Linked DNA regions of Homo sapiens: regions 2 and 3 are each linked to region 1. Evidence: promoter capture Hi-C in 16 types of primary human blood cells and fetal thymus (Javierre and others, 2016). All regions are on one chromosome and are shown on one strand. The core of a region is centred on a gene start or on the middle of the fragment in contact, and the rest is flanking DNA. Distances in the headings are between cores, read along the strand shown. Region 1 has its middle 6.8 kb from the start of KRT33A. Region 2 holds the start of KRT12 (keratin 12). Region 3 holds the start of KRT23 (keratin 23).

Region 1 (3,690 bases), core at 626-3,125:
AAGCAATATCTATCACCATAAAGACACATTTGCATAACATGTTATACTTGAATAAAACTTAAATAATACAATTTAGAGAAAATTCCATTAAATGTGATAGAGCTGATGGGCATGCTATGAAACAGAACATAATTGGAGCAAATCTTCCTTGTCACTCTTGGTCTTTGGAGATGCAATAGAAATCCTTTGTTAACCTCCTAATAAACTGTTATTCAAAAGTTATAATTGTCTGTTTCACTCATTAATTCCAAAATTGGCTGTCTTGTATAAATTAAAAAAATAACCAGAGTTTTTCCATCAGATGAAGAGGTTATTCACCCCATATATGGCCTATGATTTCCTTCAATGGAAAAGCCTCCATGAAAGACTATTAACCCGGATTTAGTGTTTGGGAAGAAGGTGGTGGGAAACAGAATGGCAAATTCATATGAAGGTGTCTTTAGAGACACAGGAACTATTTATTCTGAAACATTAAGTGGAGGGATCCGAAAACCTTTTGAGTAAAAAAAAAACCTGTACTGAGGTAATATAAATCTATCACCTTAACATATGGTATATAATCTCATATACACATATACATAACCACATACCATATAAGCATATGTACACCACACACACATGCACACACACAACCATGCTGTGCTGAAATGTTTAGGTAGAAAGTAGGAAGGAGCAGCAAAGGGTAGAGGGATATAGTGGCCAGGAGGAGTGTGGGATCTGCTAGGCTGGATGGTGGGGAGGTGCCTTTGGTTCACCTTCCTCTCTTTGTTCCTGCCTCGGCACTCAAGGACTCCTTGTGACTTTCTGTAGTTCTATGATGTGGGCCTGGAACTCTATGCTGGAGTTCTCTGCTCAGTTGCCTGGGGTCTGCGTCAGATGATGGAGAACTGTGAGTGGGTTATTTGGCGGAAAAGTCTCTTTTGTCCTAGTGAGCCTTGAGCTTTGGCCCCACCTGTTTTTATTTATATGCAGTTGGGACCATCATTATGTCACATTACTGCCTTCAGTGGCATCCAGATTTGGCAATGTTTAAAAAAACAAAAACAGCAATCAAGTAAGGAAACCCAAGGCCCAGCCCACAAATGAGATTGAGTCTCATTTTTCACTTCTCTACTCCTACTTTTCTAAATCAATGATTGAAATGAAGAGATATTGAGAATGGGAACTCTTAATAGAGATTAGAATATCATCAACCTATGAGAACAGGTAGGGAGGGGCAGGAGGTAGAGTGGGGGTTGGAAATTCTCTCCAAAACTTGCAGACCATATATTTAGGTGTGGTAGAGATGTCCAGGGAAAAATACCCAAAACCTTCCATTCAGGGCTGTGGATACCAGAGGACAGCTAAGGAGACCAGCCCTCAACAGTTGCTCGTGGCCACCTTCTTCCCTTAGGTGCGGACCAGTCCTCTCTTTTGCGTTAGGGCTAACATAGAGAGAATGCTGAGTCTCAAAGATTGGTCACTCGCTACTCCATTTGTCTTCAGCAGCACAGTCCTATAGAATGGAGAACAGATGTTCCTGAGGATCTGAGAGTCTGGGCTCCTTTTTAGTGGAAGATCATGTATATAAAACATTTCTTTATTTGAGTTTGGAAGAGAAGAATCAGTAGAAAAGGTCTTTATAAACTTTAAAAATAACCTGGATAGGATACAGATTTCAATTAAATCAATGTAGAAAGTCACCTCATCATTAATCATGAATGTCTGCTGCTTGCTTGGAAGGAGGAGATAAATAATGGGTTCAGAATCCTTTCTTTCTCTCTTGTATATTTCAGCAACAATGCAGAGGCAGGAAAAAAAAAGCAAGAATTCTTAAAGGCGAGGTTCTGTTATTCAACCCTGGGCTTTCCCAGGTGCAAACTTAATTTCTCCTTTCTGCAGGTTCCCAGGTCTGCAGTCGCTGAGGTCATCAGCTCCTCGAGCCAGGCCTTCTCAGAAAACAGTGCTCTGAGGGGAGAGGCCCATAGCAAGGAAGCAAGGAAACAAGACCCTGGGAAATGTCTCCTAATCCCTGCCCCACCCTTCCCTGTGAAATAAACCATGATGGCGCTGGGCTATGAGTCTTACCCACTAGGAGATGGTGTGGGATGCTGTGATGAGAAGAAGAATTATGGCTTGTTTTGGAGGCAACATTTTTTGGTCCTGGTTTTGGATATATTGTTGACTCCCCTGACCATCAGAGTCCTCCTTTTGAGAGACCTGGCCTGGCAGCATTGTGGGGTTGTGAAGATCCCCTGTGTATGGAAGTGCTTTATAAATGGTGCAGCATGGTACCTATGTAAGACTCAGTATTCTTGTTGTTGACACTTTGACCTTGAATACGAATTCCTGGGCTCTTGGGATCTAAGTTTGATATTGTCTAGTCCCAGTAAAACATTCTACTCAGCCTCCTAACAGCCTGTTTGCTCCTATTTTTGACAGATGTGAACCGAGCTCCTATTGTCTCAGTTTGGAGAGCTTGCCTGAGAGGTGACATTTGCATTGAGACCTGAAAACAGAGAAGAAACAGAGCAGAGGGAAAGAGCTTTCCAGAGAGAGGGACAGAAAGTCAAGGAAGGGAGGGAGTAAGGCAGTTGCCTTTGAAGAAGGGAGCAAGGCCAGGGCATCGGGAGTGATGAGTAGGGGAGGAACAATCAGCCTGTATGTGTGGGCAGTGGCCAGGGTACATGGGGGCTCGCCAGTTCTGTGGAGGATCCGATTTCATTTCAAGGGAAGAGGAAAGCCTTGGGAGAGTTAAAAGGATGAATTTGATTGACACTTTTATTAAAAGGAGTGCATTGGCAGCTGAATGGAAAATAGGTTTACTGAACACTAACATTTAAAGTTTCAGGGTAGTGGATGACAATTACAAGTCAGGTATGTCTTCTTTTATGTTTCAAAGAAGAATCACTGACATCTAACAACAACTGCTCACATTTCTCATCAAAAACAGGAGAGTCTGGCAGCAGGCACCAAAAGTCCCAAGAATGGCTCCAACTATAAAAGGATATGAGGATGACATGATCTGTCCCTTGTTATTGCAAAATGCACACTGACAACTTGATGAAGTTATGTGCCAGGCAGGTGGGCCCCGGCCCCACCAGGCTCCTCGCTGAGCCTGCTGCAGGTGTGCAGAGGTAGCTTTCCCTCACTCTCACTTTTTTTTTTTAAACTTGTAGGGACAAGCACAGGACTGAAATGTAAAGTGTAGGGGGAGCCCTTGAAACTATTGCTATGGAATAAAAGATGAAATGCTCCTGATTATTGTAAATACAAAGTTGCATGCAGGATTGTGTAAAGACAATGCCAGGCTGGACTACCAGAATAAGCCAACAGCGTGTGATGTGCTTCCCCCTGCAGAGTCTATGAACGGAAGGGCAGGCAGGGATGTTTCACATCACCAAGATTCCTATCCCAGAAAAGCAGATGTTCATAGCTCTGAGAACGGAATGCGACCCTTGAGGAGAGCCTATAAACGGACGCATGAGGGGTGCATGTTCATATGGATAAGATAGGGCTATAAATGCCCTCATCTTGCCACAGCTCTTCTAGGCCTCTTTAGGGTTAAGGCATTCTCCCTTCTGAGAATTTCTGGTCTAACCTGTTGTCTAGCTTCACGTCCTGTTTCTATGGATTGTTTGTAACCAGCTTTTGCTGCAACTGTTACTGCTGATTAATATCTTGCTAATCACAGGTTATGGAAACACTGTG
Region 2 (3,690 bases), core at 812-3,311, 480 kb after region 1:
TCCAGTAGTGGTAAATAAATAAAAATAAAAATCTTCCTTTTTATGAAAGGTATGTATTATTAAATCAAATAAGAATTCAATTTTATTTTAGAAATCTAGAATACTTGTGATATTTTTAAAACTTTTCCTTAGAATAAAATAAAACGCAGAATCCAAATATACCAAATTGAAAAGGAGTTTTAGTGGCCATCTATAAGCAAACAGAGGTCCCTGATGGAGAAATGAAGGCCCTGTTTCCCACGAGGTAGGAAATGTATCATTACAATGATTTTAATGTATTTTATTTCAATAAATCCATTCTAGTCAAAATACATATATGTCTATAGCACACACAGTCAGTGTATACCTTATTAATAAAATTCAGTATAAACATCTTTGCAAAAAAACTGTTATTTACACCCAGAAATTTTATTTCCTATCATCAAATACAGAGCAAACTGAATTTAGAAATCTGAATCCAACAAAGGATTTCGAAGAATCCACAATCCATGTTCTGTACCCAATTATTAAAGTTCAAGTGATAGATAAGTATATAATCTTAAGAGAAAAGCAGATTATAAAATCTTATATTGAATCAATTATGTTCAAAAATGTATATAAAATACTCATATATACATACATCTTCTTTATGTTTTCTGCATCTTCTAAATTTCCTACTATAAATACATAGAGAGCTATATTTAAAAAAAAACTATAGAACTATTTTGCAATGAGACATGTAGAGAATTGGGCCATCATCTCAAAGAAAACATGTAAAAGAAAAATCCTTATTCCTTCTTATCCAATCAAAATGCTCACAATTTAAATTCCTAAGGGAATTCCACCACCCTGGAATTGTACTACTCGGTTTCCAGGTATCTACAACTCTCTCTGAAAGCAGGCTTCTTTCAAGTTAATGCATTTCCTGTAAGAACGTTAGTTCTCATGTTCAATATATAAGCCATATCAATTTCAAAGATAAATAATATACCAAACAAGAAAGTATAAGAACTTTATGTCTTAAAAATTAAAGATACTGGATATAATTCCTTGAAGCACGCTTTGCAAAGTTTTCACAACAAAGTTTAAAATATAACATTTAATTTATTCTATATTGTAAAATTTATCCTTTTTCATCATAGCAGTCAACTGAAATGGTTCACTAGCCTCTTAAACTTGGGGTTTTAATCATTTCTTAATTTGAACTGTGTTTCCACTTTCTCCTTATTGATAATGGCAACAAAATCTGAAGTGTTTACACAATCCATTCAACTAGTCAACACATTTATTGAGCAACCATTACAGGCAATATCTGTTGAAGGAATAAACATAGTAAATGCTGAGTGTAGAGCAGTGAGCAATCAGACAAGGTAAAACTGCTAAAACAACTATAATAAACTCTACTATAAACAACTGTACTCAAAAATAGTACTTTTCCAAGTTGAAGAATAAGAGGGAAAAGAAACATGCAACATCCTAAAGCCAAGGTTTTAAAATCCTTGAAAATGCAAATTCTAGTATCCATCTGGAAAATATATTTATTCTCCACCTTTCACCAGTGCATTTCACAGCTGCTTCTGAAGCTGTATTCCACTAAAAGGTATACTTGATCATGACTGGATTTTACATTGGATTGGTTTTTCCAAAGGAAACAAATGGTTTACACTGGATTTTCCAAAGGAAACAAACAGAAAAGATCAGGGAAGAACTTAAAAAAGCATAAGGTTTAGGAAGAAGTATTTAACGTATCCATTCAGCAATCGCTCATTATCTTCCTACTGTGAACAAGACGCTAGGCAGTGCTGGGAATACAGGCAACAGACTAATTTGGAGAAGAAAAATTCCTTATGACAAGCAGACTCTACTCCACCCAGCTTTCTTTTTCATATAACAAATATTTAATGGAAATGATTATTCGATTATTTCTGTATCAATGAATTTTCATTATACATAAATCATTCACTTGTTGAGCTGGCCAAAAACCTGGGGGGAGGATCCAATTTTGAGTGGAGAAAGTGAACTTTTCAACTGCGACACCCATCTTGCAGCCTATATAAGTTTAGCTTTCTGGCTTGCTGGCACAACTTCCTCTCCAGTTGTGGCCACCTTCCCCAGGCCATGGATCTCTCCAACAACACCATGTCACTCTCAGTGCGCACCCCCGGACTGTCCCGGCGGCTCTCCTCGCAGAGTGTGATAGGCAGACCCAGGGGCATGTCTGCTTCCAGTGTTGGAAGTGGTTATGGGGGAAGTGCCTTTGGCTTTGGAGCCAGCTGTGGGGGAGGCTTTTCTGCTGCTTCCATGTTTGGTTCTAGTTCCGGCTTTGGGGGTGGCTCCGGAAGTTCCATGGCAGGAGGACTGGGTGCTGGTTATGGGAGAGCCCTGGGTGGAGGTAGCTTTGGAGGGCTGGGGATGGGATTTGGGGGCAGCCCAGGAGGTGGCTCTCTAGGTATTCTCTCGGGCAATGATGGAGGCCTTCTTTCTGGATCAGAAAAAGAAACTATGCAAAATCTTAATGATAGATTAGCTTCCTACCTGGATAAGGTGCGAGCTCTAGAAGAGGCTAATACTGAGCTAGAAAATAAAATTCGAGAATGGTATGAAACACGAGGAACTGGGACTGCAGATGCTTCACAGAGCGATTACAGCAAATATTATCCACTGATTGAAGACCTCAGGAATAAGGTAAGATCTCTTTTGGAGGCGCTTTGGGAATTTTTTTTTTCCTTTTTACCATTACAATGTTTTACAGTGATAATCACCTACAACTTTGATATTTTCCAATTTAGCTGTACTTGCAGCAATTTTCTCATCCCAGGTTGTTTCACTCCACTTTATCATTTACTAAGAAATGATTGTATTTCCATTATCTTTCTGTAGGAAATCTGCATTTCTTTACTTCTCAATATTATTTTATACAGATATTGTCTTAGAAAAATGAAACTGTCTTAAACTCTAAATAAAACAGCATTTAATATCACCATTTTCACCTTTGTGTCAAAAATATATTTGTATAATACTAGTCTTTTAGGGCTTCAATCTTGTGTGTGTCCCTCTCTTTTGCCAGATCATTTCAGCCAGCATTGGAAATGCCCAGCTCCTCTTGCAGATTGACAATGCGAGACTAGCTGCTGAGGACTTCAGGATGAAGTGAGTCGAATAAACTGAAGATCATGGGCGTGTCCCACCATGTCTTCTGTCCTACTGTCCTGCCTTCATTGATATAAAATCTTCTGAAGTTCACATACTCCATATATTTACTGTTTTGGTAAATTCACATAGGGTGTTCTAGAAAGTAATTAGAATCTAATGCAATTCAGATTAAATGTCCTTAAATTATAAGTTACTTAAACCCAGGGCTATGGATCACGATATTTGTAGTGTGCTATTGACTCAACTCATGATGTGACTGACACCATAATCCTACCAGTGTCCTAAACCTCAATTTTCTTTTTTTGTTTTTTGTTTTTTGTTTTTGAGATGGAGTCTCGCTCTGTCACCCAGGCTGGAGTGCAGTGACGCGATCTCGGCTCACTGCAACCCCTGCCTCCCAGGTTCAAGTGATTCTCCTGCCTCAGCCTCCCGAGTAGCTGGGATTACAGGCGGCTGCCACCGTGCCCAGCTAATTATTGTATTTTTAGTAGAGACGGGGTTTCACTATCTTGGCCAGGCTGGTCTCAAACTCCTGACCTCATGATCCACCCGCCTCTA
Region 3 (3,690 bases), core at 442-2,941, 410 kb after region 1:
TGCACTCCAGCCTGGGTGACAGAGCAAAACTCCATCTTGAGAAAAAAAAAAAAAGAAGTTATGGGAAACCATCATATAACAGTACTAGAAGAGACTATTTCTCCCCAGTGCTCTCAGATCTCACCACCAGTTTTTCCTGGCCCTGGTCCTGCTATGACACAAGAAATCTTTTGCTCAAGGATAAGTCCTATAAATCAAAACTCCCACACATGGACATAAAATGAGACAGTGGCCAAATCTATGGGGTTGATAAGTCACTGCCACTCAGACATGCCTGAAATAATTAGAGAAGCATTAATTTCATTGTAGATTCTGGTGAGAGAATTTAGAAAAAGGCAGTGCAGCCCGGCCCTTGCACATGCTAAAGGTAAATGTTTTCTTCCTTGGTAAGTCTGGGTCCAGGCGAACAGGAACCAGAGCTGACCATAACTTTGATGACCAGGAACCGTCCACATCCACAGAACACTGGTTGCCACCACTCGCCAAACAAGTCTCTCTAGTTCCCTCATTTGCTCTATTTTTATCACTTGTCTCTTTTGTCTTTTTCTCATATCTGAGATGTAAGTGACTGTCGGCACTCTTTCTAAGCACTCTCCAAGCTTCCCTGAGGCTTGGAGGCTCATTTTTCCAGCTCGTGCACAGTGAAATAAAAAATATTCAGAGACTCTTCCCTGATAAGGTTTTGTTGTAAGACTGGGAGGAGCAGAGCTGGTGTGCTTTTGGGTGGCTTTATTTGTAATTGGAAAAGATTGGCCTTCATGGATGGTTAATCTATACCCAGGAGAGGCGTTTTCCTACTTTCTAGTTCTATAACTCACAGTCCTAAAAGGAGCAGAAGTTGATGGCATCAGGAGACCTGTGTTAAAATCCTGACTCTAAAAAGTTTATGATTGAGTCAACATACATTTGCAAAATACCACCAAGAAACCAGACTTTGGTGCTCAAAAATGGAAGACATAAACTCTGCTTTCAAGAAGCCTGCGGTCTCAGAAGGGTGTGGCAAATGCAGTATAATGGAGTGAAAGAACGGAGTGGACTTCATCCCAGGCACAGGAGGTGGCTGCGCCTGGCTAGGGGCTCCCAGCTTCCACCATGAGGTGGGATGCCAAGGTGTCTGCCCCTCTGGAGGACCTCGGCATCCAGAAGAGGCAGTTTCCTCCTAGAGGGTCACCCAACTCATGCAGGAGAATTCAGAAAATGATTGTTGAAGGAGGTAGCCCTTGAACTATAGAAGAGGTAGGGGTGAGTGACTTTCCAGGCAGGGAGGACAGCACAGACTCGGGCAGTGTCACCTATGAATTCATGTGCTCAATTACACTGTACATGCGAATCAGCTCTGGATCATTCATCCCTATGAGACCCTGATTCTTTGTCTGCAAAATGAAGACAACAACCCTTGCCTGGATACATAAAGAGTTGTGAGGATTCAATAAAGAATATAAAAGAGCTACACCAATTGGCAAGTCCTATTATTATGAAAGAGAAGTGTGGTACAGGACCTGTCAAGATTCAACCCAAGATAACAGTGCTATGTGGAGAAAGAATCTAGCCCTGGCTCTGCCACTAACCTCCCCACCACCATAGGCCTCAGCTTTCCTCATCTGTCCAATTAGTGGCTTGGAACCAGAAAGGCCAGAAGCCCTTCCTGCGCTGATATTTTATTTGTAAGTCCCCTTTAAATCCAACTGCCAGTAACTAGCACGTGGCTCCCGCCCCCAGACTGCTTCTTTATTCATTCCTAACCTTTACCTTGGCAGATGAAATATAAGATTCATCAACCACATTTGACAGCCCATGGCAGGTTTCCTGTTTTCCATCGTCCCTCTGCAGGTCACAGACACACAGAGCCCAGCCGTGGCAGGCTCAGCCGGGGTCCGGGGCTGCTAACAACGGCTACATTCCTCCCCCAGGGCCAAGGGAAATCCTGAGCGCAGGCCAGGGTTGTTTGGTTTTGAGGTGTGCTGGGATGAAAGGCACCCTGGAAGTGGAAGGTTCGGTCATTCATTAATTAATTACATCTATAATTGAGGGTTTGTTCTTAAGAGCGAGTCCTTTGAAAGTACTTTCCTTCAAACAGTGACTGCCACAAAGGCATCAGATATTCACCACCTTCTCGGCTGCCTCAGCACAGCAAGCTTTATTCTGGGACCTGAGATCCTGTTCTGAGCTGGCTTTCCCTTCTCCAGGCTCGCTCACCCTCCCTTTAGAGGTGGGGCTTATTGGGGGTGGAAAAAGGTGTGTGTATCTCTGTTGTTTAATGTCTGGTTTTTTGTTGCTGTTGTTGTTGTTTTGTTTTGGTTTTGGTTTTTGGTTTTTTTTAAGGAAATCTATACTACATCGAATATGCTTTCTTTTGGGTGGACTTTAACCTAACCCATTCCAGGTAAATGAACAATGGAAAAACTTCACGGCAAGATTAGAAAGATACCTGAGCCCAATACCCGCCTGATGTCGTGGGCCACACCTCCGGGTTACCAGGGGAAGGGAGGAAGCAAACTGTCATATTGATGTGGCTCTAAACAACAACAGTGTGCGAAGGCCCAGGGGCACTTTGGGATTGACCAAGAGGAAACACAAGTTGCACAATGATACAATCTTGTTGGTACAATTGTCAGAGAAGGGAACTCCCACAGCAAAGGCCATAAAACCATCCAGGGCAGTCTGGGGCGGCTCAGTTCTGCGGTGCCAGGGAGTGGAGCAGAGCTCAGCCCCGTCCCAAACACAGATGGGACCATGAACTCCGGACACAGCTTCAGCCAGACCCCCTCGGCCTCCTTCCATGGCGCCGGAGGTGGCTGGGGCCGGCCCAGGAGCTTCCCCAGGGCTCCCACCGTCCATGGCGGTGCGGGGGGAGCCCGCATCTCCCTGTCCTTCACCACGCGGAGCTGCCCACCCCCTGGAGGGTCTTGGGGTTCTGGAAGAAGCAGCCCCCTACTAGGCGGAAATGGGAAGGCCACCATGCAGAATCTCAACGACCGCCTGGCCTCCTACCTGGAGAAGGTTCGCGCCCTGGAGGAGGCCAACATGAAGCTGGAAAGCCGCATCCTGAAATGGCACCAGCAGAGAGATCCTGGCAGTAAGAAAGATTATTCCCAGTATGAGGAAAACATCACACACCTGCAGGAGCAGGTAAGATGCTGGGTGACCCTGGAGATCCAGATGGGGCTGCTTTGCCAGGGGACCCTCGGGAGGAAAAATGAGTCCAGAAGACAATTTCCAGGAAAATGGCATCAGCGCTTGAAGTAATTGTGCACAAAGGTTTTGGGGGATGTTTTCTTATTATATCTTAAATTTGGAGTGGGAAACGTCTGTTTTGTTTAATTAGTCTACTGTCCATGGATAATGTAGAAAAAGAAGGCAGCAAAAATGATAGAAGTGCTACAGACTGTTTCAAAAATGAGACTACTGATTTCTCACAGACCAAAAACATCTTTAAAATGTGAGGCAACCAGCTGCTGTTTAATGTCACTTATGACCCAACGATGTCATAGAAATGATAAGGGCTGGTGTTCATGCTGCATGCTCAGTGCACCAGGCATAAGAGAGTGTTTACTTTCTCATTACCTCAGTTCTGCTCCACCTCAAACTTTTTTGAACAATGTGGTTATCCATCGACAAAAGGCTGTTACACTATTTTGAAGATTATGCCTAAAAGTTGTCACCACACCAGCATATAGGTCATCATGACAT

What was found. Contacts are between HindIII fragments. The CHiCAGO score rates a contact against its expected background, and 5 or more counts as called.
Region 2: the fragment with the promoter of KRT12 here is called in contact with a fragment that was not itself captured in region 1 in 1 of 17 cell types (M0 macrophages); the score reaches 5.5 in M0 macrophages.
Region 3: a contact is called between the fragment with the promoter of KRT23 here and a fragment that was not itself captured in region 1, in 6 of 17 cell types (endothelial precursors, M0 macrophages, M2 macrophages and 3 more). The highest score is 7.5, in endothelial precursors.

Annotation. Positions count from the first base shown.
Region 1 is chr17:41,342,196-41,345,885 of GRCh38, reverse strand. No RefSeq gene overlaps it. Among named protein-coding and RNA genes, the nearest start is that of KRT33A, 6.8 kb to the left of the region's middle. The HindIII fragment of the contact is 4,681 bases long and covers 1-3,690 here.
Region 2 is chr17:40,865,594-40,869,283 of GRCh38, reverse strand. It overlaps KRT12 (keratin 12), which reads left to right and starts at 2,061. Exons shown (of 8, transcript NM_000223.4): 1 at 2,061-2,664; 2 at 3,047-3,129. The coding sequence starts at 2,098. All of the region lies in intron 1 of LOC105371777 (a long non-coding RNA gene), which reads right to left. The HindIII fragment of the contact is 7,860 bases long and covers 1-3,690 here.
Region 3 is chr17:40,935,647-40,939,336 of GRCh38, reverse strand. KRT23 (keratin 23) reads left to right here and starts at 1,691. Exons shown (of 9, transcript NM_015515.5): 1 at 1,691-1,991; 2 at 2,384-3,129. The coding sequence starts at 2,734. All of the region lies in intron 1 of LOC107985072 (a long non-coding RNA gene), which reads right to left. The HindIII fragment of the contact is 1,536 bases long and covers 602-2,137 here.